2 separate regions of the Homo sapiens genome follow, and region 1 is linked to region 2. Evidence: promoter capture Hi-C in human tissues and cell types (Jung and others, 2019). All regions are on one chromosome and are shown on one strand. Each heading gives the region's core, a stretch centred on a gene start or on the middle of the fragment in contact. The rest is flanking DNA. Distances are from core to core; before and after follow the strand shown.

The links. The method cuts DNA at HindIII sites, captures the fragments that hold promoters and counts their contacts. A contact is called where the count stands out against the background at its distance.
Region 1: a fragment that was not itself captured here is called in contact with the fragment with the promoter of CXCL2 in region 2 in 2 of the 25 tissues and cell types used here (H1 embryonic stem cells and IMR-90 fibroblasts).

Annotation. Positions count from the first base shown.
Region 1 is chr4:73,923,768-73,927,589 of GRCh38, reverse strand. No RefSeq gene overlaps it. Among named protein-coding and RNA genes, the nearest start is that of CXCL1, 56 kb to the right of the region's middle. The HindIII fragment of the contact is 9,274 bases long and covers 1-3,822 here.
Region 2 is chr4:74,097,266-74,101,327 of GRCh38, reverse strand. It overlaps CXCL2 (C-X-C motif chemokine ligand 2), which reads left to right and starts at 2,133. Exons shown (of 4, transcript NM_002089.4): 1 at 2,133-2,307; 2 at 2,406-2,529; 3 at 2,644-2,727; 4 at 3,557-4,062. The coding sequence starts at 2,208. The coding sequence ends at 3,572. The HindIII fragment of the contact is 5,836 bases long and covers 1-2,851 here.

The sequences.
Region 1 (3,822 bases), core at 750-3,249, 170 kb after region 2:
TGTTGAACCAACCTTGCATACCAAGGATAGAGCCTAATTGGTCGTGGTGGATAAGCTCTTTGTTGTGCTGCTAGATTCAATTTGCCGGTATTTTGTTGAGAACATTTGCATCAATGTTCATCAAGGATATTGGCATAAAGTTTTCTTTTTTTTTTTTCTTGTATCTCTGTCAGGCTTTGGTGTCAGGATGATGCTGGCCTCATAGAATGAGTTAGAGAGAAGTCCCTTCTCCTCAATTGTTAGGAATCGTTTCAGTAGGAATGGTACCAGCTCTTCTTTACATGTGGTCAAATTAGTTGTAAATCCATTTGGTCCTGGGGTTTTTTTAGTTGGTATTCTATTTATTACTGTCTCAATTTCAGAGCCCAGTATTGGTCTGTTCAGGGATTCAGTTTCTTCCTGGTTCAGTCTTGGTGTATGTGTCCAATAATTTATCTATTTCTTTTAGATTTTCTAGTTTATGTGCATAAAGATGTTCATAATATTCTCTGATAGTTGTTTGTATTTCTGGGAGGTCAGTGGTAATATCCCCTTTGTCATTTCTGACTGTGGGTATTTGAATCTTCCCTCTTTTCTTCTTTATTAGTCTAGCTAGCAGTCTATATACTTTATTAATTTTGTCAAAAAATACAGCTTCTGGATTTGTTGATCTTCTGAATGGTTTTTCATGCCTCAATCTCCTTCAGTTCAGCTCTGATTTTGGTTATTTTTTGTCTTCTGCTAGCTTTGGGACTGATTTACATTTGGTTCTCTAGGTTTTTTAGTTGTGATTTTAGGTTGCTAACTTGAGATCTTTCTAACTTTTTGATGTGGGCATTTGGTGCTGTTACTTTCCCTCTTAACACTGCCTTAGCTGTGTCCCAGACATTCTGATTTGTTGAATCTTTGTTCGCAGTAGTTTCAATGAATTTCTTGATTTCTGTCTTAATTTTACAATTTACTCAAAAGTCATTCAGGGGCACGTTTTTCATTTTCCTTGTAATCGTTATGAGTGAATTTCTTAGTCTTGATTTCTAATTTAATTGTGTTGTGTTCTGAGTGACTCTTTGTTATGACTTCAGTTCTTACTTCCAATTATCTGATCAGTTTTACAGTATGTGCCACGTGGCAATGAGAAAAATGTATATTCTGTTGCTTTGGGGTGGACAGTTCTGTAGGTATCTATCAGGTCCATTTGATTCAGTGCTGGGTTTAGGTCCTGAATAGCTTTGCTAATTTTTTCTCAATGATCTGTCTAATATTGTCAGTGGAGTATTAACGTCTCCCACTATTATTGTGTGGAAGTCTAAGTCTCTTTGAAGGTCTCTAACAACTTGCTTTATGAGTCTGGGTGCTCTTGTGTTCAGTGCATCTATCTTTAGAATAGTTATATCTACTTGTTAAATTGAACCCTTTACTATTTTGTAATGCCCTTGTCTTTTTTGACCTTTGTTGGTTTAAAGTCTGTTTTATCAGAAACTAGGATTGCAACCCCTGCTTTTTTCTGTTTTCCATTTGCTTGGCAGATTTTTCCTCTATGCCTTTATTTTGAGCCTATGTGTGTTATCAGATGTGAGATCAGTCTCTTGAAGATAGCATACCAAAAGGTCTTGGTTCTTTATCCAGTTTGCCACTCTGTGTCTTTTAATTGGGACATTTAGACAATTTATATTTAAGGTTAGTATTGATATGTTTGGATTTGATCCTGTCATCATGATGTTAGCTGGTTATTTTGCAGACTTATTTATGTGGTTGCTTTATAGAAAATGCCTCAGCATTTGCTTGTCTGAAAAAGACATTATTTCTCTTTTGCTTATGAAGCTTAGTTTGGCTGGATATGAATTTCTGGGTTAGAATTTCTTTTCTTTAAAAGTGTTGATTATTGCCCCCCAATCTTATTCACTGCAAAGTGATTCCATTAAAACACAAACCTAATTAGGTTACCTTTCTGCCTTGGGAGTCTTCAATGGTTCTGTATCATCTACAGCAAATACCACTGGGCATGAGTAACGTATTAGTTTGCTTGATAACAAAGTACCACACACTGAGTGACTTAAAAACATAAATTTATTTTCATACAATTCTGGAGGCTAGAAGTCAAAGATCAAGGTGTCAGCTGAGTTTTTTTTTCCCAAACATTTCTAGACATTAAGAGAGTATATACATGGTTATAAAAAGTCACTTAGTCTGGAGTATATTGAAATCAAATTTATTTGTATATGATAGATTCAAAATATGTAATATATAAAATATCATAAATAAGTCCAAGAAGAAATATATAAATATTTCATTAGAAAATTTTAACATATATTTTTAAATAATTGATAATTTATGCAGAAAAGACATTAAGATACAGACTATTAAAAAGCACAATTAATACATTCCATGCAATGGATATATCTGTATATATGTTTTTACATATATATCGATATATATGTATATATGTATATACATGTATCGATACATATACACATATATATCGATATATATACACATATACATATATATGTAAAAACATATATACATGATATATATATCAATATATGTAAAAACATATATACATGATATATATATCAATATATACATATCCATTGCATGAAATGTATTAATTGTGCTTTTTATGTATATGTATGTATATTAATATATATCTCCACATACTCAATTTTCAATAGCTACAGAGTATATTCTTTTCTTAAAAAAGCCCACTTTATTGAGGTGTAACTGATATACAAAAAGAAAAATAACAAACAGTTAAGGAGGAAATTTTTGGAAGTAATGGATAGGTTCATGGCAAAGATTATGGTGATAGTTTCAGAGAACATAGTATTTTCAAGAAGACATGGACCATTTATGAAAGCTGACCACATATTTAGATAGAAGGCAAGACTCAAAAATACTTTTCGATGTTTGTTGTGATACACACAATGATCTGTGATTATTGTGTGAATAAGTTAGGTATCAACCACAAAACTGTACTTTAGAAAAAAACTCAACAATACTGAAAGCAACATATATTTGGAAATTAATAAAATCACTTCTAAATAACTCAAAAATCAGAAAATCAGAAAATACATAAAAACTTATTAGAAAATATATAGAATCAACTGATAATTTTGCCGTATGTTGAACACATGAGACCTAGGTAATGTAGGGACATTTACAGCTTTAAAATGCTATGCTAGAAAATGAACTTAAAATATCTAAATTAAATAAAAAGACAAAGAGAAGGAACTAGATATAAGAGTAGAAATTTATGAAATTGGAAACACACATTCAATAGAAAGGATCACCAAAACCAAGAGTTGGTTGTTGAATAGATTTTGGTGTGATTGGTCAAGACTGCAGACATTACAAAGTTAACAAGAAGATGTTATCATTTGGTGGCGATTAATGTGAAAATAGGTAAAATGGACAAATTTGTAGAAACATATAACAGTAAATTAAAGAGGAAATATTATATTTAAATAAACCTGTAACCTTTAATAAAGTTGAATTAATACTTACAATATTTCCTACCCAAGAAATGCACAAAACCAGCCATTTTTAATAGGGAAGTCTACCAAATATTCAGGAAAAAAAATTCAAACTTACAGAAATTATTTCACAGTGTCAAAATTTAGATCCCTTTCTGACTTACTACATAAGGCTGACATATTCCTGATAATAAAACCTGACAAGAGCTATTTCTGAAAGGAATTTTTCAGGTGAATCACAATATGACTATAAATGTAAAAGTTCTTTAAAAATAAAGGATTAGAAAACTGAAAATTAGAAGTTTAAAAAATACATCAAGGGATACAAGATTGACTCAATATAGGAAAGTCAATCAATATAATTCACTAA
Region 2 (4,062 bases), core at 884-3,383:
TAAGGATAGAAATGCACCCTCCTTTAAAATTTCTGATGCTGAAAAATTTTAAAGGTAAATTAGAAGATGTTTCTTTGAAAATATTTCTTTCTTTGTGCGTGTGTGTGTTCATAAGGCTTTATCAGAGTGCTTCTGTTTAGTTAAGTGTCTTAGTCAGTTTGAGCTGCTATAACAGAATGCCATAGGCTAGGGGGCTTAAACAACAATTATTTCACAGTTCTGGAGGCTGGGGAGTCCAAGATTAAGATCCTGGCAGATTTCATGCTTGGTGAGGGCCCTCTTCTCAGTTTGCAGATGGTGGCCTTCTTGCTGTGTCCTCACAATGCAGAAAGGGAGAGAGAGCCAGAGATCGAAAGCTCACTGATCTCTTGCTGTAATGGCACTTATCCCATCATGGGGGCCATACCTTCATAACCTCACCTAAACCTAATTACTTCCCATGGTCCTGTCTTCTAATATTAGCACATAAGGGAGTCAGGGCTTCATCATCTGAATTTGAAAGAGACACAAACATCCAGCCTATATCAGTAAGGTTGTGAAACACCACTTCTATTTTGTTATTTAACAAATATTTACATAACACTTTACATGCACTGATGGTTTACACATATTAACAATCAATACTTCTAACAACCCCGTGAGGCAGGCACTATTATAAGCTCTTCTACAGGGGAGAAACATGAGCAAATAAAGCATAAATTACCAAGGGTCATGAAGCAAGTTAGTGGTATGGCTGAAACTTCAGCCCTGACATCCTTATCAAGTGATCTCTACAGCTGCAGCATCCAGGGAACACTCTATTCCTAAGGTAGTCCCACTTCTTCATCCTCGTGCCACTCCCAGCCCTTCTCATAGCAGTGGCAGAATATCTCCATATCCCTGAAGTCTGCATCCACCAGGAAGAATTAAGACAGAGTATTGTAGGCCTACAGCTTAATTTTTAAAGAGAGGGGGTCATTGAAATTGATGATGAAAAGTCAGTAATCCAGTGAGAAGGCATCAGCTAAACAGGCTTGGAAATGCTTTATTGACATTCCTCTAGAACTAAAATTTCCTCGATAGCTGTTTCTCTAGAGGGAACCAATCCCAGGATGCTGGTAAATACATATGGCATGGAAATGCAATTATGTTAGCAATCTAGTATGTATATATCAGACATGTCTGCTTGTGCTTAGAGTAGTAAACAAGCGGAGTCTCATTCCCTGCTCCTTTTCTGGTGGTGTCTATGGCCTTTTCTGCCCAGGGACAGCACTAGAAAAGGCAGACCTCCTGAGCCCAACAGGCCCCTCGCAGCTCCCAGTGACTTCCATGGATCAAAACACAGACTTCCATACAACAAAAAATTGATGCTACTGGAATTACTAGAGTTCGAGATGTTCCAAGATTTCAAAGAGAGAAAGGATGGGGGATTGCAACACTGTTAACTAAAATAAACACTGAATTGACCCTTGGCAATGGTCTGTTCCCGCACCCAACACCTGGCTCCACTACGTTGAAACACACACACACACACACACACACACACACACACACACACACACACGTGATATTTGCTTTTAAGATCATAAAACACCAGGAAGGAGACAAAAGCTCTTATGCGTCATCTGAGATGACACATGTACTGTTAAAGCGTGCGTTTATTTCAAACATTAATGAAATTTGCAGAACCCAAACTAAAGAGAGAGGATAGATAAGACATGCTGCAGTTCTTGCCCTAACTTTCAATCCCAACAACTGAAATGTCTTCCAGAGAAGTAACTCCCCCCGGTAAGGATGTAGCGCGGTCCCTACGTGGGTCTAAGGGATCTGACCCACGACGCACTGCACTGGGTTCACGAAGCGCCTCCTCGCAGGCGGTTATCTCGGTATCTCTGAGAGCGGCGGGCTCTCGCTCCCGCTCCAGGGATTCGGGGCAGAAAGAGAACATCCCACAGTTGGCGGGAGTTACGCAAGACAGTCAGACCCGGACGTCACTCGTGAGTGCCCCGACCCCCCTCCACCCCAGAGGCGGGGCCATCGCCTTCCTTCCGAACTCGGGATCGATCTGGAGCTCCGGGAATTTCCCTGGCCCGGGACTCCGGGCTTTCCAGCCCCAACCATGCATAAAAGGGGTTCGCCGTTCTCGGAGAGCCACAGAGCCCGGGCCACAGGCAGCTCCTTGCCAGCTCTCCTCCTCGCACAGCCGCTCGAACCGCCTGCTGAGCCCCATGGCCCGCGCCACGCTCTCCGCCGCCCCCAGCAATCCCCGGCTCCTGCGGGTGGCGCTGCTGCTCCTGCTCCTGGTGGCCGCCAGCCGGCGCGCAGCAGGTGGGTCCCGGCGCCCTGGGGTCCCCGGGCCGGACGCGGCTGGGGTGGGCGCCCCGCGCCGACAGCCCCGCTCAATCAGCGAGTCTCTTCTTCCCTAGGAGCGCCCCTGGCCACTGAACTGCGCTGCCAGTGCTTGCAGACCCTGCAGGGAATTCACCTCAAGAACATCCAAAGTGTGAAGGTGAAGTCCCCCGGACCCCACTGCGCCCAAACCGAAGTCATGTAAGTCTCGCCCATCGCTGCCGCTGCCACTGCTGGGGTCCCCGACTCTCCCGCTGCCCCAAACCCTGTCCTCAGCCCGACCTCCTGTCTCACGAGATTCCCTTCTCTCTGCAGAGCCACACTCAAGAATGGGCAGAAAGCTTGTCTCAACCCCGCATCGCCCATGGTTAAGAAAATCATCGAAAAGATGCTGAAAAAGTAAGTTATAATTTCCATGTACACAGGCGACTGGAGCTGTTGGTCAGAAATACTGGCGTCTGCCCCCTAAAAAGTAAATCAGGAAAACCCAGGGTTAGCTGCAGGACTGAAAAAATTATTATTTTCACAAAGTTGCCATTAAGGTTATTAATCTGTTCTGGTGCCAGAGGATATTCCCAGTGCCCAGGGTCACCACCCAGGTTCTTCCCTCCTGCCAGTGAATGTAGGTAAAACTGCTTTCATGTAAGGTCTCATTGGAGTTTGCCAGTTGTGCTGAAGTGTTTTCCACCTGTTAAAAAACACAAGCTTCATTTCCCCTAGTTCCTACTGACTTTCAGACCTGAAAAGCAGACCCCCTGGTTTTTTGTAAAAGTTTAGGGTTGAAGTGCAGAGATTTCACAATAATATTGCACTGGGTATATAACTGGTTGCCACCACCTATTAGCCATGTCACTCAGAGACAATATTATTTAGTTTATCTGAGACTCAGCAAAACAGGGAAAATAATGGTAGCTACATCATGAGGTTGCTTTGAGGCTCAAGTGAGGCCCAGTATGACAAAGAGCAATAGGCTCTGGCTGTTTTAGCCAGTAAAACAGTGTAGACTGCCACTCCTCCACCCCACGTCACCCCCATTCCTAAAAGAGCATCCCAAGCCTAGAGGTCCTTGCCACACAGCACAGCTGTCACAGGCAGTACCCACTTGGGTGCCAGGCTGGGGAAACTGCATTCAGAAAACTCTAGAGCCTGGGGAAACAGGACAGGAGAAGACTGTTGTGCAGTCAGCTTTCCTGAGCACCTACTCAGGGCACCCATTTTCTCATTACAGTGGCAAATCCAACTGACCAGAAGGAAGGAGGAAGCTTATTGGTGGCTGTTCCTGAAGGAGGCCCTGCCCTTACAGGAACAGAAGAGGAAAGAGAGACACAGCTGCAGAGGCCACCTGGATTGCGCCTAATGTGTTTGAGCATCACTTAGGAGAAGTCTTCTATTTATTTATTTATTTATTTATTTGTTTGTTTTAGAAGATTCTATGTTAATATTTTATGTGTAAAATAAGGTTATGATTGAATCTACTTGCACACTCTCCCATTATATTTATTGTTTATTTTAGGTCAAACCCAAGTTAGTTCAATCCTGATTCATATTTAATTTGAAGATAGAAGGTTTGCAGATATTCTCTAGTCATTTGTTAATATTTCTTCGTGATGACATATCACATGTCAGCCACTGTGATAGAGGCTGAGGAATCCAAGAAAATGGCCAGTGAGATCAATGTGACGGCAGGGAAATGTATGTGTGTCTATTTTGTAACTGTAAAGATGAATGTCAGTT